Linked DNA regions of Homo sapiens: all the other regions are linked to region 2. The links are contacts of gene promoters, found by promoter capture Hi-C in human tissues and cell types (Jung and others, 2019). All regions are on one chromosome and are shown on one strand. Each heading gives the region's core, a stretch centred on a gene start or on the middle of the fragment in contact. The rest is flanking DNA. Distances are from core to core; before and after follow the strand shown. Region 1 has its middle 130 kb from the start of KCNG1. Region 2 holds the start of KCNG1 (potassium voltage-gated channel modifier subfamily G member 1). Region 3 has its middle 210 kb from the start of KCNG1. Region 4 has its middle 160 kb from the start of KCNG1.

Evidence for each region. Contacts are between HindIII fragments. The study calls those that stand out against the background at their distance.
Region 1: a fragment that was not itself captured here is called in contact with the fragment with the promoter of KCNG1 in region 2 in 2 of the 25 tissues and cell types used here (H1 embryonic stem cells and spleen).
Region 3: a fragment that was not itself captured here is called in contact with the fragment with the promoter of KCNG1 in region 2 in 3 of the 25 tissues and cell types used here (H1 embryonic stem cells, dorsolateral prefrontal cortex and mesendoderm cells).
Region 4: a contact is called between a fragment that was not itself captured here and the fragment with the promoter of KCNG1 in region 2, in 3 of the 25 tissues and cell types used here (IMR-90 fibroblasts, dorsolateral prefrontal cortex and mesendoderm cells).

The regions. Positions count from the first base shown.
Region 1 is chr20:51,155,180-51,160,762 of GRCh38, forward strand. No RefSeq gene overlaps it. Among named protein-coding and RNA genes, the nearest start is that of KCNG1, 130 kb to the left of the region's middle. The HindIII fragment of the contact is 3,101 bases long and covers 1-2,917 here.
Region 2 is chr20:51,021,852-51,027,377 of GRCh38, forward strand. KCNG1 (potassium voltage-gated channel modifier subfamily G member 1) reads right to left here and starts at 1,256. Exons shown (of 3, transcript NM_002237.4): 1 at 1,019-1,256. RefSeq lists a silencer at 1,185-1,354. The HindIII fragment of the contact is 10,697 bases long and covers 1-3,390 here.
Region 3 is chr20:51,235,022-51,240,595 of GRCh38, forward strand. No RefSeq gene overlaps it. Among named protein-coding and RNA genes, the nearest start is that of KCNG1, 210 kb to the left of the region's middle. RefSeq lists an enhancer at 2,026-2,612. The HindIII fragment of the contact is 3,322 bases long and covers 1,305-4,626 here.
Region 4 is chr20:51,175,491-51,181,184 of GRCh38, forward strand. No RefSeq gene overlaps it. Among named protein-coding and RNA genes, the nearest start is that of KCNG1, 160 kb to the left of the region's middle. The HindIII fragment of the contact is 9,439 bases long and covers 1-5,694 here.

The DNA of each region.
Region 1 (5,583 bases), core at 117-2,616, 130 kb after region 2:
TGCACGAGGGCAACAGGGCAGCTATCGAATGATATCTTTTTCAGAAATGGGTTCCTCCGAGCAATGACAGGGGAAAGGAGGGCGGATGACCTCTATCCCTGCCCCAGTTCACATCTCCAGCTTCCTTCCCCACAAATTCGTATATTTTTGTCTTCCCAGCCGCTGTCTCCCTTCTTTTGACAACAAAATATGAATCTTCCCATCTCTCTTCTCTTGTGCAGCTTGGAGAGACCGTTGGTCCAGGCTTCCTGCCCTCTTCTGTCAGGAGCTGGGCCTGGGACTGAGGTTTGTGTGGGTCTTTGACTCAAGGATTAAAAATGGCGGGTGCTGCCTGGGGCAGGATGACGCCTAGCCGACTTTCCACCCACGCTACCCAGACCCACGGGGTTGCCCTGGTTCCTGCCCTTTCCCAAACCCGGCTTTTTAGCTTTCCTTTTATCTTTTGGGCCAGCCCATATTCCTTTTATTTTTTTAAAAAAATCTTAACCCTTTGATCTTTCTTTTTGTGAAAAATTATGGTAAAATTCACATTACACTAACCATTGTAAAGCGTACAATTCAGTGGCGTTTAGTATATTCACAATGCTGTGCAACCAGCCCTTCTATCCCGTTCCAAAACATTATCATCGCCCGGAAAGGAAACCCCTTACCCGGGAAACAATCGCTTCCTCTTCCTGTCTCTCCCCAGACCCTGGCAACCAAAACTGCTTTCTGTCTCTGGATGTACCTATTCTGGATATTACATGTAAATGGAGTCATACAATACATGAATTTTTGCGCCTGGCTTCTTTTGGTTAACAAATGGTGTTTGAGGGTCACTTGCATTGTAGCCTGTGTTAATGCCTCATTCCTTTCTAAGGCTGGAGAATATTCCCTTGTATGGATAGACCATATTTTACGTAACCATTCGTCAGCTGATGGCCATTTGGGTTGTTTCCACCTTTTGGCTGTTGTGAATAGTGCTGCTAGGCTCACGTTCTCTCAGTACATTTTTTTTTCTCTTACGTTTTCCAGAATTGGCTTCTGTTCATGGCTATTGAGAAATCCTTACTGATGGAATGCCAAAAAGGCTTTATTTTCAGGGCTCCAGAACACATAGTCCGAGGAAGGTGAAAATGTAAAAAACATCTCCGATGAATTAGACTCAGCAGGGAACGGTCCCAGTTCCGGGAGGACTTTTGTGAATGATCACTGAACGCCGTGGTTGGTGCCTCAGCTCGGGGCCCTCTGAGAGGTGCCATTTGCTGAGAATGCTTTGGAGAAAGGAAGCCAAGAAGGCACTCCTCAAAGGATGGCAGCTGGGATCATTTTAAGTTTTTATCCATCCCCTTTGGAATGGAGAGGAGCTAGGGAAGCGAGCCTTTGGGGACTCAATGATTGCAGCCCTTCCCCCAGCTGGTCCAACAGTAAAGCGACAGATACATGCTGAGAGAGCAGAAGCTTTTAGGTGCTGATTATAACTTGGGTGACAAGTGACAAGATGCAGGCAGGCCTGGGTAAGATAAAAAGATCGCAGCAGCTGACAGCTATTGATGCTTCCTGCACACCCTGCTCTGTGCTGAACCCTCTGCAGGCATCGTCTCATTTACCCCTCACAGCAGCCTACGGGGAAGGCACTAGTGCTAGCCTCACTCTGCAGAGAAGAAGGGGGTGCACAGAGTGGCTTAGGCACTCGTCCCAGATCACAGCAGGAAGTGGCAGAGTGGTGCTCTTAAAACAGTGAAGAGGAGGCTGTAAAAGGCAGCTCAGCATCTGGCTACATGTGTATCTGTGTCCTGTTTCACAGATGCCTTAATTCTCTTCCAGGGAATCATGGAGGTTCCTCTCCAGGGGAGAAGTGGGGCTTACTGAGTGGGAAGTTTGGGGGTTCAGTTCCATGAGGTTCCTGGGAGGTTTGGATTGGTCCTGTCTGGGCCATGTACCTGTCCATGCCCCAGTCTCTGTGGCTGGGAGATGGGGCACTCTGACTGGTAATTGGGTGGACACGGGACATATGCCACCTCTCTGACAGAGAGGGTGGGTTGAGTTACTCACAGTTGCACAAACTCAGAAATGGGTTCCTCTCAGCAATGACAGGGGGAAAGAATGGCAGATGACCTCTGTCCCTGCCTCAGCTCACACCTCCAGCTCCACAAAGAGCAATGGTCCTGGAGTCACTTGCTGGCTGGGTGAATTAGGCAAATGACTTAGTATTTCTGAACCTGTTTTTCTCATCTGCATAAAGGAAACAATAGCAGGCTCTCTCTCATAGGATGATTGTGAGGATTAAATGAGCTAATGTTTGCAGAAGTCCTTTATCAACTGTGATAGCCCCATGGATTTGCTTTATCTTCTACTTGGTACCCCTCCCTGTCTCCCTTATTATTAAGGTGTGTCTGTGGCCCAGTCACCCCAGGGCAGGAGTGGTCTGCTCCTTGCAAAGTGAGCGCTCATCTAATAAGCATGTTGGGTGCCGATGGGTTAAGAGCATCCTTGTGAAACTGAGGATAGCTAATAATGATCATCTGTGATATGTTTCAAGCACTGAGCCACGGGCTTGCCATACAGCCATGTGACCCTCACGCGATTCCTCCCAGGTAGGGTCTGGTATTATGCTCACTTTATTGAATAAGGACACTGAGGCTCAGAGAGGGAGGGAATGTGCAGAAGGACCCTCAGCTAATGAGGTTCAGAGCTGGAACTCGAACCTAGGTCTTTCAGATTCAACCTGTGGCCTTACCAATGGTGCAATAGCCCTTTGTGCAGCTAAAGTTGGCCTTCCCACACAGCAGAGAGTGCTTGGGAGAGCAGCTTTTGGCCAGCATTCGACAGGGGCATTTCTTGACTCACTAGAGCAATCCAAATGTGTAACTTGCTGCCTTTCCTACCCGTGGGCTGCTCCAGTATCTTGCAGAGAGCGTGGGGTGGGAGTGGGGAAAGATGAAGAGACACAGGGCAGTCCTTGGGGATGGCAGCATAAGTGTACAGCACCAGTGCTAATAATCAGCAGCTCAGTGAGTGCTTATTCAACACACATTCATTCATTCGTACATATGTGGGAGTCAGGTATGTTTTGTTTTTAGGGTTTACAGGGACCTATGGGGGAAATGAAGGGATGCTAAGGTACATTCCTTACTGTGGTGGGCATCTGATGTTGTAAATCCCTCTTTCCCGCCTCTTCTGATAACAGCACCAGTGCTCTTTTGGAGGACGTACCCACTCCGGTTCAGGTGGCTGAGGAGGGGCTGAGCACCGCGTCCTCTGACCAAGGTTAGCAGTTCCGGGGTGGGTCAGCCTGTGTGGAAGGCAGCAGAGCTTGGAGATGCAACATCCAGAGGGGATCTCTTAGCCTACTGGATCCAGTTAGATGTGTCCCTAGAGTTTTCACTTATGAGAGGCAGTAAGCCCCTTTAAATAATCAACCCCGTTTGAATAGAGTTTCTACCATATGCACACTTGACCACAAGGAGTTTATGATCTCACCGAAAAAAACAAGAAGGAATAGCCTTCTACTTGATTGTTATACTTGCATGTGCATATAGGTATATACATCTGTTTATGTTTAAGAGATTATTCTATGTTTAAGAGATTATCCTATACTCACGAAGAGCTGGATTTTAGTTCTGGCTTTGACTCTAAGTCATAGTGTGAACATGGGCCAACACCACTTCCTCTCTGAGCCTCAGTCTTCCCATCTGTGAAATGAATGCCCTGGGCTCTCTGCTCCCTAAAGCCAAGTCCCTTCCACTCTTTTTTTTTTTTGAGACACAGTTTCGCTCTTGTTGCCCAGGTTGGAGTGCAGTGGCACGATCTTGGCTCACTGCAACCTCCGCCTCCTGGGTTCAAGCTGTTCTCCTGCCTCAGCCTCCTGAGTAGCTGGGATTACAGGCACGTGCCACCACAGCCAGCTAATTTTTTGTATTTTTAGTAGAGATGGGGTTTCCCCATGTTGGCTAGGCTGGTCTTGAACTCCTGACCTCAGGTGATCCACCCGCCTCGGCCTCCCAAAGTGCTGGGATTACAGGCATGAGCCCCTGCATCCAGCCCCTTTCACTGTTATATACTAGGAATTTAAGATTAGTATCTGTGGGATGGCTGGAGACAAAATAATGAGAAACCAAGAAAACATTGATGTGCCCTCCGCTAGCCTCAGCATTCTGCTTGTTGATGCAGAAATGAGAAGGACCTAGGACCTGACTGGAAGGAGGAGCCGGGATTTGTGTATGGGAGGCCGCAGCAGCCTGGCCATGGGTTCTGCTGCCTCCTGCAGATGCGTAAAACATTGATAAGGATGATGCCTGCAAAGCGCCCTTCACAGATGGCTGTGGGCTGTACCCGGAGCGCGGGGAAGGAGATGAGAAAAGTAAGAGCAGTTGGCTTCAGATCAGCCCCAGATAGTGGCATGGGGATTGAAGCTTTTAACACAGACCTTGAATGCCCGTGACCCACAGGAACAGTGGCCAATGTTCTAAACTAAGGAGATGCAAAAACATCCAGCTCAGTCTCCTCTGCCTCTCAGACTCCAGACATGTCAGAGGAGGATATGACAACAAGCTTAGAGAGGCAACTGGCTTTTTCCCCTGAATCTCTGGTGGAACCGATCCTCCTGAGCTGAGATAACCATTTACACTATTGATTGACTGATTGATTTCTAAAGGTGAAAAGCATATTTGTTAGGGTCTGTTTGGCTCCAAAACCCCTGAGTAACAGCAGCTAAAAGGATAAGAATATCACTCCTGTCTTAACAAGGTGTCTGGGCAGAAGTACCAAGATACCGCACGTCATAAAAATGTCATCAGGGAATTAGGCCCTTTCCCAGTCTCCTTTCTGGGTTGACCCTCTGTCCTTGAATTTGTTATCTCCAACCCTAAGATGGTTGCCACAGCTCCAGGTGTTGTGTCTCTGATCCTCTTCTGCATCCTAGGGAGGAGGCAGGGCATAGGTGAGAGGCTCTCTTTGTAAGCCGAAGCCTTTTGATCTGAAACATTCACTTTCTAGTAGCCTTTGAAGAGACCTGCTTATACAACTCATCGGCCAGAATGGAGGGACACATCCCACTCCAGGCTGTAAAGAGCCTGGGATAAGTGTTAGTGCATAGAGGCAGAGGAGAAATGGGCTGATCAGGTGGTTGATGGTGGACCAAGGCAGAACAGGGATGAACATAAGCCCTAGGAGGGGCCTCCCATATGTTTCTCCACTGGGGGCTGAGTCTGAGGTTGGCTTACAGATTGTCTGGTCCCCGATTCTTCTCTTGGTTTGACCACTTGCTCACCATGTACCCACAAAGTACAAGACAGAGGTTTCAGTTTGTGGAGCAGAGGCTAGAATTGAATCCCAGTGGGAATGAACTAATTTGCAGACGCTATCTCCAAACTTAAATATTTGATACCCATTAAGCCTGTCTAACCAAAGCATCTCCCCAGGCATGAGTCACCAAACTTGACCTGCTCTCCACCCTCGGATCTAGTCAGGCTAGACAACACTGCTGTCAACAAATTTTAGGATCTCTGTGGCTGAACCTGGATGTTTACTTTTCATGCACACAGAGGCTACTGTGGATCTAGAGCCTCTCCATGGAAGCTCCCTGCAGATGGGTGGCTCCAG
Region 2 (5,526 bases), core at 6-2,505:
CTCCCCACCCTACCCCATCACCCGCCCCTAAGGAGCTTTGAAAAGATCTTTTCTTCCTATTCTAGAACCAATTCCAGCTTCCACACCTCCCACCTTGAGAAGGAATGCATTAGATGAACCAAGACTTCTGCCTATATACATGGGCTGCTACAGTTGGCCACCCCGGCAGTCTGCGGCCTCCCAAGCGGGGGCCTGGGTCTTAATCCTTACTTCTCTCTAAGCTGCATGAAGGGTGCCCCCATTCCATCCCTCTTCACTTCTCCCCAGCATAGCGCCTCCATAAATGTTTGTGAACTGGATGAATGACTGTTGAGCGCTTGGTATGATGAGCTGCTTACAATAGGTGCTCAACCAATCTTTGTCCAATCTATGAATGAATGAATGAACTTCACCCTTTTCCTTCCATACCTCCGGGCTGAGCCTCTCTCCCACATGGAAACCCTAAGGCTGAGACCACCACCTTCCTACCAGTTCCTGGGGGTGCCCAGTGAACTGTCTCAGTATCCCCAGTGCCTAGCACACAGTAGGCGCTCAATAAACGCTTGCTGTGTTCATAATGAATGACTCAATCAGGCCCACGGTGGGGGTGAAGGGGGGCTCCATACTGTGCCTAAGGATACAGTGAATGAGCAAGTGACACACACTCCCCCACCCCAATCCCTAACTCTCCTTCCTCCCAGGATCGGGGGAGAAACCTCGGCCCACAGCCGGGATGCGCCCCCGCCGGGGTCACCGCGGCGGCGAACGTCCCGGACTTCGCATCCCGGTGACCCCTTGGGATGAACCGAAGCCGGACCCGCACCTTGGCCGTAACAAGCGCGCTCCACGCCGCCACGCACCAGCGGTGACTCCCGAGTCCTCTGTCGCCCTGGCCTCCCCGCAGGCGGGTTTCGAGGCCCCCGCAGGGAGTTCAGGGCCACGGCCACGTGCAGCCGCCCCCGAGCCCGAGTTTGCAGGCTCGGGGTCCGGTTCGCGCTTCGGTGGCGCCCGGCGAGGCTGCAGCGCGCAAAGTTCCCACCTCAAGTTCCCGTCGCGGCGTCCCCGCCTCGGAGTTGGCCCGGCCGCGGCTTCCGTTCCCCCCGGCTGCCCACGGGTCCGGGGCGAGGACGCGAGAGGGGCCTGGAAGTCGCCCGGGGAGCCCGCTCTGCCTCCCGGAGCCGCCGCCAAACTTCGGTCCCGGGGCCCGGCTCAGCTCCCGCCCTCGGAGCCACGGCCGCCCCGTCTCTGCCTCCCGGTCCCCGCCGGGCTCCGAGTGCGCCGGGAGCGCGGCGCAGCAGCCGCCGAGGGAGGGAGCGAGGCAGGAGGCGGGACGGAGGGAGGGGACTGAGCGCGGGGCGGGGAGAAGGGGCGGGCAGCCGAAAGCGCAGCGCCTGGCCTCGCCTCGCTTCGGGACAGTGGCAGCGGCGCCACCGTCACGGGGCGTCCAGGCGCCCAATCGGGACCCCGCACCTTGGATCCGGGGGCCCTGGCGCGCCTGCTGGATTGCGCTCCTCGCGGCCAGTTCCTGAGCCCGCGTCCGGGACTGCTCGCGCTACGCCCTCCCTCCCGTTGCCTTCTTCCCCGTCTGCTCTCCCAGGAGCGACCACCCTGCGGCCCCTTCGCCTGCACGCGACAGCCTTCAAGGTCCCCGCGCTCCGCTGCCCTGGAGCTTCACGCACCAGGCGGCGCGGCAGCCTCCTAGGGTCGCGCGCCCTGTCAGCTTTCCCCGCGGTGCAAGTGCTCCGGTGGTCCCGGGTCCGCGCCCCTAGCAGCACCGCCCCAGGGTCTACATGTGCTAGATATTAAAACCCCACTCTCCGCTGCCCCGGGGCCGCGCTCCACGCGCTTACACATCCTGGGAACCACATGCGCCATGTCTCCTGCCTTTCCCTGGAAGTCCTGGAAGTCCAAGTGCACTGCTGCCTCTGGGTCCCTCGCCCCCCTACCCCGGGCAAATACTGCATCCTTGAGGCCCTCCACGCGCTGCTGCCCTGGAGCCGAACGCTCCAAGCAAGCTTCCACATCCTGGGGGCCATATATCGCGCGCCTTTTCTCGACCTCCTAGACCAATGTTGCCCTTGGGCCCTTCCTGCCACCGCCACCCAGGGACTGCCAGCATCTTGCTGTGCCAAATTCCTAGGGCCAGTACGTACCGTGCCAGGTGTTTTCCCTTCCAGTCCCGCGGGGCCGAGGCCCCAGAGCCCTCCCGGGCTAGCAGAGCCGCACTTCGTCGTCCACTCCCCTGGCCGGTGCAGGGCACTTGGACCAGGTCCTGGGGTCTTGCTCCCAGTGTGGCCGCCTAGCCTCGGAGTTGGTAGGATGCTGCACAGATGCTGGAGGTTGGGTTGGAGGGATCTATTGGGTTGGAGGAATCTACTGAGTTGGAGGGACCTATTGGTTTGGAGGGATCTGTGCTGCTGGCAGGGCTGGCCTCTTAGGGTGGCTTGCCTTGCACTCCGTTCCTCTTCTCCTTTCTGTCTCTTGCACTCCGTTCCTCTTCTCCTTTCTGTCTCTTGCACTCCGTTCCTCTTTTCCTTTCTGTCTCTACTGCCTTTGCCTATCATCAGAGAACCAAGAAAGGACATGAAGAAACCCTGCTGCCGACCAGCCTGAGGCCTTCTGCTTGAGTGGGGCTCGGGTTGGGGAGTCGTGGGTGCTCATTAAGTGGGTTAGGGTTAACCCTAAGAAATGAGCGCAGGGCACACTAGCCTGCGCGGCAGTCCCAGCCGGGTGGAGCATAGGAGTTCCAGGTTATAGTGCACTATGATGGCACCACTGCAATCCAGCCTGCGTGACTGAGCGAGATCCAGCCTCTAAAACAACAAGAATAAAAACACTGGCTTACTGGTGAGGTGGAGGCCTGGACAGACAAGGATCTGCCTAAGGACCTGTTTCCAAGAGCTCACCTTCTACTGGGGGCTTGGCAGAATTGGGAAACTGCTGAAATACGTGATTGCAGAATGAAGCCAGAGAGGCCACTTTAGATAGAATAATGGGGGAGGGCTCCTGTGGAGGTGATGGTTACATGGAGCCCTGAGCCAGAAGGAGCCCATCTGGCAAGATGGGAAGAGAGCTTTCTAGGTGGACAGAACATCAAAGGCACTGGCCTTCAAGCAGGAGAGAAGGAGGCATGTCTGAGAAACATCAAAGAGACCAACCAGCAGTGTGGGGGAGGGGCCTGAGTGGGGTGGGGTGGGCTTTTGTTGTCAGAGGGTCCCTGGATTACATATTGAGAAACACTCCTCTTGTGGTGGATCAGGCTTCTGCCTTCCTTTCCCATCTGAAATTTTTTTTTTTTTTTTTTTTTTTGAGACATAGTCTCTCTGTGTCTCCCAGGCTGGAGTGCAGTGGTGTGATCTCAGCTCACTGCAACTTCCATCCCCCTGGGTTCAAGCGATTCTCCTGCCTCAGCCTCCTGAGTAGCTGGGACTACAGGTGTGTGCCACCATGCCCAGCTAATTTTTGTATTTTTAGTAGAGACGGAGTCTCACCATGTTAGCCAGGCTAGTTTTGAACTCGCAACCTCAAGTGATCCGCCAGCCTCAGCCTCCCAAAATGCTGGAATTACAGGCGTGAGCCACTGCACCCAGCCAGAAAATTGCTCTCTATCTTGTTTTTGAGACAGGGTCTGACTCTGTCACCCGCTGGAGTGCAGTGGTGCAATCATAGCTCACTGTAACCTCTAACTCCTGGGCTCTAGGGATCCTCCTGCCTCAGACTTCTGAGTAGCTGGGACTACCACACACCACCATGCACCACTAATTTAAAACAAAATATATTTTTTGCAGAGACAGGCGGGTCTGGAACTCCTAGGCTTAAGACATCCACCCACCTTGGCCTCCCAAAGTGCTGGGATTACAGATGTGAGCCGCTGCACCTGGCCATGTTTCTATCTTTTTTACTTGCGTATTATCTGTGTCCCCACTGGGGACCAAGCTCCATCAGGGCAAGGACTGTGTGCTGTCTCTCCCCTCTCCAGCAGCTCCCACTCTGCTAGGCACATACAGAGCAGGCTTCTTAAATGATTCCTGGAAATGATTCCTGGGGGAATTCAGGACAGTTTTCTGGAATAGATGTGACTGCGTCAGAGAGTCAGACTCCTCACTGATGCTCACAGGGTAAGGATGCAGAGCAGGGCCTCTCAGACTTTACTGTGCATCTGAATCCCCCTGAGGGCTTATTAAAACCCAGACGGCTGGCCCCCACCCTGGAGTGGCTGATTCAGTGGGTCTGGCGTAGGGTCCTTCTGAGGAGTTCCCTGCTGATGCTCATGCATCAGGTCTGGGGATCCCACTTTGAGAACCACTGATATTGAAGACTTGAACGCCTACCCAGCTGGGTCTGACTTCGGAGCCCTCATGAGGTCCCGGGACAAACTCAAGCCAGCTTCTTCTTATGTAGGATCCATAGGAACTAATGGCCACCTCTAGAGATGGGGCTGGGCTTATTAGAACACTATGCACCTGAGTCAAATTTCATAGTGACCTGCAGACAGAAGACCTGGTACACTGTGTGGAGACCGTCAGTGAGAACAATGACTTCCACCCGGTCCTGCCTACCCGCAACATACACACTCACTTGCTGTACCCAGGAGTTAAATTACTGCCTGATCTTATCCCTGACTGTGCTAAACAATGTCCAATAAAATCCTTTTAAGTCCTTTTAAGGAATTCCCTCTTTGCAGTTCCTCCCTCCCTTAGAGCCTTCCAGATTTTTCACTCTTCTCCTCATATCTTCATTTTCCTCTTGAAAAGCATCCTTCCCCAAGCTGTTGTGTGGAAAGAGATGTTGATGATACCCATGGAAGCTTCCTGAGAAAATGGGAACCGTCAGTGCTTGCTGGGCAGCTACGAGGTGCCAGGTGGTTGCTGGGTGATTTGAAGACATCAGAGCCACAACTGGGCCCGGAGGTGGACTCTGGCACGCAGACCTGTTTTATTTGTCCCTACTGAGTTAAAATTTTTAAAAATTAATTTAAAATTAGTTGCTGACCTTTAAAAACTGGGAGATTTCATGTAAAATTTTTTCTTTTGAAACACTGGGAGATCTGGCCAACATCCTTTACCCACACAGCATGCTGGCGCTGGGCAGTGGCTTCTGCTCCCTGCGGTGTGCCCCTCTACCCACATCATACCATCTCGGTTACTGCCAGGCCCCTGGAAGCAAGAGTTGGTGACTTTTCATGTTGGCAGATTGTCTAGGGTTGCGCGGTAAATGGCAGAGCCAGATCCGAACCCAGGCCTGCCTAACCCAAAAGCCCAAGCTTGTCACTGAAATAAAAACTGCTGTTAATTTTTCGGGCAGGAGGAGAATGTGACATTGCTGGCCCTGAGGAAATACCTTAAAAGGGAGTTACTGTCAGCAGTTTAAGAATATGCCTTCCTTCCCATCCATAACCAGCTGTCAGTAAGCCATAAAGTTCTGGGCTGTTTTTCCAGGGCAGGAAAAGTTATCCAGAGCTGTCCATTTTTTTTTAACCCATCTCCTCCTTGAGATGAAAAGGCTTGGATTTGGTTGGAGTTGGGAGGAATCTGTTGAGAGTGGTGG
Region 3 (5,574 bases), core at 1,716-4,215, 210 kb after region 2:
TCTTTCCTATTGTAAGTCCATTCAGGACATAGGCATCGGCAAGACTTTATGACTAAAACACCAAAAGCAATTGCAACAAAAGCCAAAATTGACAAATGGGATCTAATTAAACTGAAGAACTTCTGCACAGTAAAAGAAACTATTATCAGAGTGAACAGGCAGTCTACAGAATGGGAGAAAATTTTTGCAATCTACCCATCTGACAAAAGTCTAATATCCAGAATCTACAAGAACCTTAAACAAACTTACCAGAAAAAAACCCATTAAAAAGTGGGCAAAGGATATGAACAGACACTTCCAAAAGAAGACATTTATGCGACCAACAAACAGATTAGATTAATCTTAATAATACATTTTATTTAATCCAACATATCAAAAATATTTCAATGTGCAATCAATATAAACTTTATGATTGAGATACTTTACTTCTTTTTGTACTAAGTCTTTGAAATCTAGTATGTTGTAAACTTAATTAAATAGTATCTGAGACAGGTCTCAATCAACTTAGAAGTTTGTTTTGCCAAGGTTAAGGACACACTTGGAAGAAACACAAAATCACAGAAACAGTCTGTGGTCTGTGCCTTTCTCCAAAGACGATTTTGAGGACTTTAATATACAAAGGGGACAAGGAGGCTGGAGGGGAAGGAGGGAGGGTAATGTCACATAACTGAATCCACGTGTTGTAGGAGAAAGGGGGCAAGTAGGGGAATAGTTATATATTCCACTGGCACTCACTGTAAGATAAGGTGAGAGTAGCTACCTGGAGGACTTAGAACAAAGGAGGGAAGCACCGTGGTCAGCTTACATTCTGAAATGACGATTCTGCTGTGGGAGAATAGACTGTTGGGGATGGAGGGAGGGCAAGGTGAAAGCGGGGAGGCAGGTGAGAAATGATAGGAGTTCACTAAGCAAAGAGGGGAGAATGCTTTAGGCTGAGGCATCAGCACGTGTGAGGGTAAAAGAGCTGGAAGGAGCTGGACATATTCACAGAACTGGGAACAGGTGTCTGAGGAGGGGAGGGTAAAGGGAGGTGGCCTATGAGATGCAGTCAGAGGGGTGGGCAGGGGCTACTGCTAAGACCTCGTGGGCCACAGGAGGAGTGAGGCCTCCATGCTGGGAGTTGTGAGGGCCAGTGGAGGTTTAGCCAGCTGATTGGAGGGACTCCAAACTAAACTGCTGGCCCCTCTCTCCCACGTGGCCCATTTTCCCAGACCCTGGGTGCTGTGGATTGGCTCCTATGGGTGCAGATTTCAGGTGGAAGCCCCCTGGCAAGGAGGGGCCGTGAGGGCAGCAGATCCCATCCCCAGTCTGTCAGGCTGATAGAAAGTTTGACTTCGGGCGACTTTCTTGCCTCCTCAATATATGAATAATTCTCAGGTAAGGAATGATTGCAAACTAATTTTATTATTATTATTATTATTTTTACCACAGAGAGCCTACCGCACCTCATTTTGCTTGTTTTCTTATTCTTCCCTTCACAGTGCTGCTGAACTTTTATGTTGTGCTTGAATCATGATTCAGCTCTTAACCATGCTTCTAAAATCCTATTCCCAGCCTAGTACAGGCAGACCCAAACCAACACATTACTTCTAAGTCTAATTTAGCCTGTTGGTGGTGCGGCATTTGTGCTGCTGTCTGAAGCCAGGATGCTTTGCTCTTGTTTGAGGTTGTTTGCATACAGAATTGTTCATGTGTTTGATAGCCCAGAGAATGCACAGAGCTCTAGTGATCCCTGCCAATGCTTTCTGGCAGGACCCATCTCTCTTGGGCTATATGGGGCCCTTGGGGGAGGCAGCAAGGCCAGGCTGAGTGAGGCCTTGCAGGCCCTGGTAAGGAGCTGGACTTTATTTAAGTATGCTGGGAAAGTCACTGGAGGGCTCTGAGCAGAGGAGGGACATGACCTGACCCTGCAATTTGCAGGGTCACTCTGGCTGTACGAAGGTGAGGACAGGAGGACTGGGGAAGAGGAAGGCTCCTGCAAGAGTCCGGGGGAGAAGTTGGGGGCCTGAGCCAGGAGGGCAGTCTGGGGGCTTCCCTTTCATTCCCTTCCCATTGTCTTCTCCTGGAGGTGGAGGAGGACCTGAGCCCATCCTGTTGCAATGTTAGGATCTTCTGGAGGAGCTGGGGGAGCTCGGAGATCCACCTACTAAGGGCTTTCTGGAACATGCATAATAAAGAGGAGGGAGCTGCCTGCTCAGAAGTTGGGGGAGTCTTTTGGAAGAAGGTTCTTTTCTACTATTCTGTGAATTGTGGAGAGCGTTATATTATCTCAATAGGAAAAAGAAAAAAAAGTCTAAGGATTATGCCAGTCCTCTAAAGAGGAGTCTGTTAGGCTAGAGAAGTGGAAGAATGTTCCAGAACTCTTTGAGCTCCCAAGTTTGAGTCCTGCTGCTGCCTGAAGTCACCATGAGAGCCCTTGGGGCCAAGCATTGCTTCATCCTGCTTCCTCTCTCCACCCCCTGCCAGGGTTTTCAGTGCAGACACTGTGGGGCCTGTGGCTGCCTTTTCTACGTTCCTCCAGCCACGATGAGGAAGGTGGCTGCAGCAGACGGGCAGGGGCGAGTTGGGCAGCAGAGGGGAAGATGGCCTGGGAGTCTTTAAAACTGCCCAAAGGTGGGGCATGTCCAAGCATCTCGATGGGGGGAAATAGGCACTTGAAAGCTGGAAACTTTTGTGGTCCGGATTCTGAGAGGGGAAAAAAATCAACAAAACCCAGCCGTCCCCAAACTCCTAACAATGTTCTCTGGTGCAGGAGTGATTCCCAGTAGGCAGGGTCCGAGCCGCCCTCCCTGTGAGCATGGTGTCAGAGCCTCAGGTTGCTTTGGAAATGGATTTGTTTTTTAAACCGAAGCTGAGCTTTATTAGAAGAGAAAACTAGGTCCTGTGTACTGGGGAAGGGAGTTTTACAGGCAGCACCGAGCCGGGCCACCTTCCCTTTGACTTGCTGGGAACGCCAGGGCAGGAAGCAGCAGCTGTCTGGGAGACTGGCAAGAAGTCCGGACTCTGGGGATCCTGACTCCAAACTCCAGCCCCATCGTTCCCGGACCAAACTGAGGGCTGGGCTGCAATTTCTCACCACCCAAAAACGAGATGCAGATGAACTGGGGAGGAAGAGAGTTTTTATTTCTGTAACCGGTTAAAGGGAGAAGGCCTGGAAATGATCCCCAGAACAATTCAAAATGATAAAGTTTGCCAGAGCTTATATACCTTCTAAGCTATATGTCTACGTGTAAGTGTGCGTTCGTCTAAAGACATAAGTGATTAACTTCTTTTAATCTACAATGAAGGCCCGAGTCCCGAAGACCTTCCTCTGGAGCCTCAGTAAATTTACTTAATTTCAATGCGTCCAGGTGCTGGGGTGATTACCCTTATCTTGTCCCCTGCTAGAACATGGAGGTTTGGGGAGTTCCTTCAGAGCCCCAGTCAACTTGTTTGTGAAGGCCTGGGAAGTTTCTTCAGACCCCCATTAAAACTTGTTTAATCCTAAACGGGTCCTGTTAAGAATTCCTTCATTATTTTGCCATGCTTTAAGGCCCAGGAAGAGCCTAGGCAAAACTCTGGGTGGGGCTTTGTTACATTCCAGCCTTTGTATGAGGGCATTGGCTCTCTCAGCTTTTAATATTTCACTTCAGCACTCAGCACTGAAACAGTTGTTACGGAGGCCTGCGTTAGTGAGACCTGGCCTGCCATTCCATGACTGACTTACTGGGCAAGTGAGCTCAGGCAAGTTAGGAAGCCTTGCTGAGAGTAATGATTCTCTCTAGCCAGACAGTTATGAGTGGTAAAGAATCTGCAACGGATTCAGCAACTAAAGCACAGAGAGGGCAAGTCACCTGTCCACAGTCACACAGCAGGAATGCGGCATAGCTGGGAATTGAACCCAGGCAGTCTGACCCCAGAACCCACACACTTAACTGCTATTCTCTAAGGAGGAGCTTGTAAAAGCTTGGCCACCTTAGGTGGCCTGTGTCAGTCATCTGCTGGCTTGCGGATCTGTTTCTAGTCTCCCAATCACTGTGCTGCAATCACTAATGGGCTGTGGGGCCCAGAGGCAGGCATGCCCCTGGATAAACCTCGGTATCTTTATCTCCAAAACCCATCTTCCATAGACATCATTGAGCACCCAGCCAAACAGCGCAGAGGAAGGGACCCCTGGGTGAGACAGTCAGAAACATCAGGACAGGAAGCAGCAGCCGCAGCAGGTCTGTAAATGCCAGTCCTGTGTTCACTTGTCACAAGTCTTGTAACTATGCAGGATTTCCAACAATAATTCCTTCTGGTGGGGATCTCTGAGAAACATCAACCAATCGTACCCCTCTTCTCCACTCAGTTCGAGACCTGTTTTGTCCGATGTAGGAGTCATGTGCCACATGTGGCTATTTAAAAGTACATTTTAACAAATTAAAAGGAAACCAATTTTAAAATGCAGTTCCTCTATCTCAGTAGCCACATTTCAAGTACCCACTGAGCCCATGAGGCTACCAGGTGCCCGAGGCTACCAGCTGCCGTGCTGGGCAGCACAGACACAACGCTTCCTCATCACAGAATGTTTTATTGGGCAGCGCTTGTCTAAACAGATTAAAAATCAAGAATAAGAGTAACAGATGGAAACCAAAATACTGCACCAGCTAATGCATACAGAGTATTTATTTAATATATGGCCAGGCATTACTCTAAGTGTTTTATATGTGTTAATACATTTAGTTCTCATAACAACCCTGACAGGCAGTTACCATTTTTATCTCATTGGATGGATAGAGAAGTTGAGTCACAAAGAGGTTACATGAACTTGCTGAGGCCACGCAGCGGGTACATGGCCAGCCTGAATTTTAACCCTGTGGCTCTGGAAACAGCACGCGAAACCTCCACACTCTACTACCTCTGACTTCTTACAAATAAATGCTCAGTTGGAAGTTGTAGCCCAGATGAGGGTCAATGTGACTTCCTAAAACCATACCCTAGAGTTGGACAGAATTAAACACTTGGTGAAGTTGGTCCTGGTCTGGGGTTGGCCCCCAGCCTCCCTGTCGTGTGCTGGCCCTGGAGTGGCCCCCGTGAGGACGAGGGACGCTGCACACAGGAGTAGGGGACTCGTGGCTTCCTGTGGGCAGGCTGACCCACCGCAGGGTAAAAGCAATGTGTGAGCCAACCACACCCACTTTGGTTTTCTAAAACTTGCAGCCAGATATTCCTCTCCCTGGGGTGGGATGGAAAGCATCGGACAGAGGGCAGGAGTCTCATCCTCTCTGAGTCCCCTTCATCTGGAAGGAAATATCAGAAATGGGGAAGAACGGTTTCTCCCGAAAGCTTTGAAAAGAACAAATGAAAAATATAAAGAAAATGTTTTGTGCCTTTGAAAGTAGACGCCCAATGCATGAATCTTCCTAAACTCTTCAGCTGTCATAGATATGGTTATGAGCAACAGAAACCCAATTAACTTCTCTCAAATGAAAACGAAATTGATTGTAAGGATACAGGGAAATCCTATAGAACCCAGTGCATGGAGGTAGCATTGCCCTCTTGGAAAGTTGTCAGACAGTGTCTGTCTGCAATCTGCGGTCTGAGTAATGGCCT
Region 4 (5,694 bases), core at 3,189-5,688, 160 kb after region 2:
ACACAGGTACGCAAATAATCAAATAGACACAAATAACCTTAGGAGCATAGAAGGAGTGAAATGTAGTAAAATGATTAGGAAGTGCTGGGTTGTAATTATGTACTATCTTTCTTTTAAATATACCTTATTTAATTCTGTTTATATAATTTGATGGTTAATAGTGGTTCTGTTTATCAACTGGTTCACACAATTCCTAAAAATGTAACATTAGGCTTTCCCAAGCCAGCACAAGTCAGATTCAGCACATTGAGCAAGGGGACACTGGTTTGATTCTAAAACAATTGTATGATTCCTGGGGGCAGGGCCCCGGCAGCTTAGATCGAAGTGCTCCCCAGGTGATGCCAATATTTAGTCAGGGCTGAGAACCACTAACCTAAACCCTCACTACTCAATGTGTGGCCCCGGAATCTGCTGCATCAACAGAATTTCAGGCCCAGGCCCAGCCCCAGCCCTGCTGAACCAGAATCTCCATTTCAGTAAGAACTCCAGGTGATTCCTGCGTAGCACCAATGAGGTAAAGGACTCAGTGGTTCCCAAACGCCAGTGTATGTGCACCTGCTGGGGCAGAGTCCTTGATGTGAGTTAAAATGCAGATTCCTGGGCTCACCTTGAGGTCCCCACTCAGTGGATCTGGGGCTCCAGGGATCCGTATTGGGGTGTGATGGGGTTCCCCGTGTGCTCTGAGGCACTTCCTGGTCTGGGAAAGTGCTGGAGAGGGTTGGATTCAAACAGATTTATGGGATGGAAGGGAAAATCTAACACAAGGAAGACGAATTCTTAAATCTGCACCTAGTGAGTGTCACTAGGTAAAGGAGAATGCAAGGATACTGGGAAGAATGCAGAATGATTTCGGGGCCAGGAGGAGCTACTGTTAAGGGAGACCTCGTGCTTGGCCACTGGGGATGCTCAGGCGTGCATGTGCCCAGGTGTGGATGGAACAGCATGGGGAGTGGAGTGGCATGGACTTGAGAGTCAGGGTCCTGGATTTGTTTCCCACCCATCACTCACGAGCAGTTTCCTAATGGCTCTGAGCTTTGGTTCGTTCTTCTGTGAAATGGGGATTATAATCTTTCCCCTCATAGGGGTTGTTCTGAGAAAACAATGAGATGATGCGTGTAGACAGCCAGGCACTCAGTAGGCTCAGCCCATGGTTGCTGCGACTGATAGGATCTCTCTGCGCGTGCCTGTGCACATGTGGTCCTCACTATGGTGGTGCAAGAAGATCAGTAGGAGGCGAGCAAGATGCCACACGGGCTAACCCCAGAACTTGATGCTGAGTTCAAGGGCAAACCAGAATGCCAGGGGAAGTGGACAGAAACCTGGCTTTTGTTAGAAATGCTCCTAACTAAATAGCACTCCTCTGGGAGGGTAAATTAGAAAGGCCAAAGCTACAACCTGCAAAGGACAGAAAGAACACAAAAGCACATTGTTCCACGATGCTGGGTGGAGGAACAGAGGGAAGTGGGAGGAAAGACTGCTCCTCTGTGTCTGGAAGGGGAAACCACTAAGTGAAGAGTCTGAAGGAGTCTATTTTCTTTTCTTTAGTCTTTTCAGCAAAGATAAGCCACAAATAGCTGGCTGGAGCACTTCCCAGCTAGACGGCTGGCTGATAATGGGATCTGGTTAAAGATACAGGAGGTTGAAAGCATGAAGTCCATGGCGTCTCCAGGTTGCTCAATGAATTGGGCAGATCATCATGTGGCTTTCACTTTTTTTTTTTTTTTTTTTTAAATTGAGACAGAGTCTTGCTCTGTCACTCTGGCTGGAGTGCAACAGCACAATCACTGCTCACTGCAGCCTCTGCCTCCCTGGACTCAGGTGATCCTCCCCACTCAGCTTTTCAAGTAGCTAGGACTACAGGCCTGCACCACCACGCCTGGCTAATTTTTGAGTGTGTGTGTGTGTGTGTGTGTGTGCGCGCGCGCATATACGTATATGTATGTGTGTATATATATACACACACATATATGTACATATATGTATGTGCATATATATAAGTATAAATGTGTGTGTACATATATGTGTGTATATACATATGTATATGTGTGTGTATATGTGTGTGTGTATATATATACACACACATACACACATATATACAAAATATATATAATTTTGTACAGTTGAGCTTTCATCGTGTTGCGCAAGCTGGTCTTAAACTCCTGGACTCAAGCCATCCATCCACCTCGGCCTCCCAAAGTGCTGGGATTACAGGTGTGAGCCACCATGCCCAGGCCATCATGTGGCTTTTAGCCCTTTTAGAAAACGCACAAGAGCAGTCCTTGACTCAGAGGAGCAGATAGGAAGCAGTCTGCAGAGTGGCGGGCCTGGGAATTGAAGGCTACAGTGAACAGCCACGAGGCACAGGGAGTTCAGAGATGGGGACAAATCTTGGGGAGCATCTTACCAGGAAGGTGTTCTTCACGTCTAAGCCCCCGAGCTCTGTAAGTAGCTCCTGTTGGCCTGTGGGGATTTGCAAGGAGAATGGCAATGGATAGAAAAGGCTTTGAGCCAGGGACAGTGGTTCACGCCTGTAATCCCAGCACTTCGGGAGGTGGGTGGATCACCTGAAGTCAGGAGTTCGAGACCAGCCTGACCAACATGGTGAAATTCCGTCTCTACTAAAAGTACAAAAATTAGCCTGGTATGGTGGCACGTGCCTGTAGTCCCAGCTACTCAGGAGGCTGAGGCAGAAGAATTGCTTGAAGCTGGGAGGCGGAGATTACAGTAAGCTGAGATTGCGCCACTCCACTCCAGCCTGGGAAACAGAGTGAGACTCTGTCTCAAAATAAATAAATAAATAAATAAATAAATAAATAAATAAATAAATAAATAGAAAATGCTCTTGTTAGAGAAGTTCCTGCCCCACGTGGACTTCTGCTGATAACAGAGCATGGAGCTGGGTTAATGGTTGTGCTGCTGTCTGAGAGCTGGCAGAGATGCACACATTCACCTTACTTGTGCCAGCTACTTCCCCCATTCCCCTAGGCTTTATCAGTATTTACTGCAGGGGCATTCATTGATTTATTCAGACATTTATGGAGTGCCTGCTATGTGCCAGGATGGAGCTGGCTACATAATTAGTAGGGGCCAGTGTGAAATGAAAATATAAGACTCTTGATCAAAAAGCAAAAAAAGGTATCACTAAAGGTACGAAAACATTGTTTCTTTTTCTTTCATAGTCTCTCTTTTTGTCTCTCATCATAGAGTTTTTTGTTATTTAGTGTCCTTCCAAGTAAAGAAACAATGTTTAGCATGAATTTTACTGTTCATCTTTATATTATACGCCCGTTAAGAACGCAAATATAGAAGGAGTTAACTCATATATGGAATCATTGAAAACACACACTTCCTATTGTGTAGTCTGTACATGGATATATATTTCATTCCTAGCAGAAGAGTTAACACTTGTCCAAAACTAACAACTGCCTTTATTTCACTTCTTGCTGTGCTCACATGTTACCAACTCCCCATCTTCGGCTTGCTGATGATTAAGGAAGGACTGAGAGGAAAAGGAACCCTGGAGTGCCCTGTCTTTCCCTTCCCTTCTATAGGATCATTTTCAGCATAAATGGTTGGCTAATACAGGCGATTAACACAGCTTTGATTGTTCATGTTTCTTAGAATGGCATTGCTTTCTGAGTCTGAAGCAAGCTCTGACTTCAATAGGACGTGTGTCCTGCACTGATGCAAGTTGCAAGACTCACCTTGTGCTCACTTTGAGCCTCACTGGAGTCCCACGTTATTGTAGGTCCATTGTAGGTAGGTACAACCTAAGGAGCAGATACTGGTATTAACCCATTTTACAGATGAGAGTTCTGGGATACAGAGGTGAAGGGACATCTTTGAGGTCCCAAAGCTGGTGAAGGGTGGAGCTATTTTCTAGCTGAGATAACCCAGCCTCAGAGTTCAAACCACCCAGTTATTGTTTGAGAAGCAAAGTTAGAATAATTGGCATATCCCCTGAAAAAAAGTGAAATTTCCCACCTCATACCATATACTTCTACCAACCCCCACAAAAAATTCCAGTCTTAAACATATTAACACACATTAGAACTACCTGTGGTGAGTTTAATCCTTTTGTATTAAAATACAAAAGGACTCAAATTTTTGGAAAGCATTCATATAATTCTGGGCTGGGAAAGGCCATTTAAAAAACCACAAAATCCCAAATAATCCAAGATTGTCAAATTTGTTTACATAAAACTTCAATTTCCCTATGGAAAAAGGCATGAGGATCAAGTCAGAAGAAAAATCGCAGATCTGGGAAATATTTGCACCCTAATTGACAAAGTCTTAATATCCTTCAAGTAGAAAGCACTCTTAGAAATCTGTGAGGGAAAATCAGACACCGCTAGAGAAAAATGGCAAAGGTCACCAAACAGGCAATTCCCAAAAACAGATTATAAATGATCACGAAATGAGGAAAAAAATGTTTTACTTCAAATCATATGTATCTATTTTACCTCCAACTTCTGAAGATAGAGAAGTCACGACTATGGCCACGTTGGTGAGAGTTTTGGTAGAGAGCCTTGGCTTGTTTGGTGGGCATGCTTTCCATTTGTCTGGAATGTTCTTCCCCCAGATACCTGCATCTCTCCAGCCCCAGTTCCTTCACTTCTCAAGGAGGTATCCTGGCTCTTTCATCTGAATGGCCCCCACTCTCCCAGCTACTCCCCATCCCTTACTCTGCTTTTTTTCCATAGCTTCTATCATCATGTGACCTGTAGCTTCTGTATTTGTTCACTGTCCAGTTCCCTTCTCTAGACGACAAGCTCCACCAGGGCAGGGACTTCCTTTTGTTCGCAGCTGTTTTCCCCAGCACCAGGAAGAGAATCTGGCACACAGAAGGTACTCCATTGGTATTTCAATGCACATGAAAAGAATGGGGATCTAGGCTGGGCACAGTGGCTCACGCCTGGAATCCCAGCACTTTAGGAGGCATTTTAGCAGATCACTTGAGATCAGGAGTTTGAGACCAGCTTGGCAAACATGGTGAAACCCCGTATCTACTGAAAATACAAAAATTAGCTGGGCGTGGTGGCATGTGCCTATAATCCCAGTAACTCGGGAGGCTGAGCCAGGAGAATTGCTTGAGCCTGGGAGGCGGAGGTTGCAATGAGCCAAGATCATGCCACTACACTCCAGCCTGGGTGACAGCCAGAATCCATCTCAAAAAAAAAAAAAAAAAAAAAGGGACCTCACAGTGCAGTTTTTTTGGAGGGTGATTGATCAGTATCATCAATTGAAAAATGCACGTTAGAAATTACTTCTAGAAATGTATTTTACAGAAATACAAAAGGCAAAATTTATATGAGTATATGTGATTTATCGCCTCCTGTGGAAATGATCCATACAGAAGACTTGCTTGAATAAACTTGGGGTACAGGCATACAACAGAAATACAAGTTTTACAGAGCTTCCCAATGAAGGATGTATAAAGGAAAAACATGAGGTAGCTGTAGCTATGGCTGTAGATATAGATAGCTATAGTATAGATACGGATATAGTACAGATATATCTGTACTATAGACATGGATATGAATATGGATGTGATGCCTTCAATAAATGGTGAGAGTTTATTCCAGAATAGTGCGTATAGAATGGTTCCACTTTCACAACAGGAGAACTTACACAAATTGGGTACACATAGAAAGAAGTCTGGAAGGACATTTAACAAATGAAACAGGGTTTGCC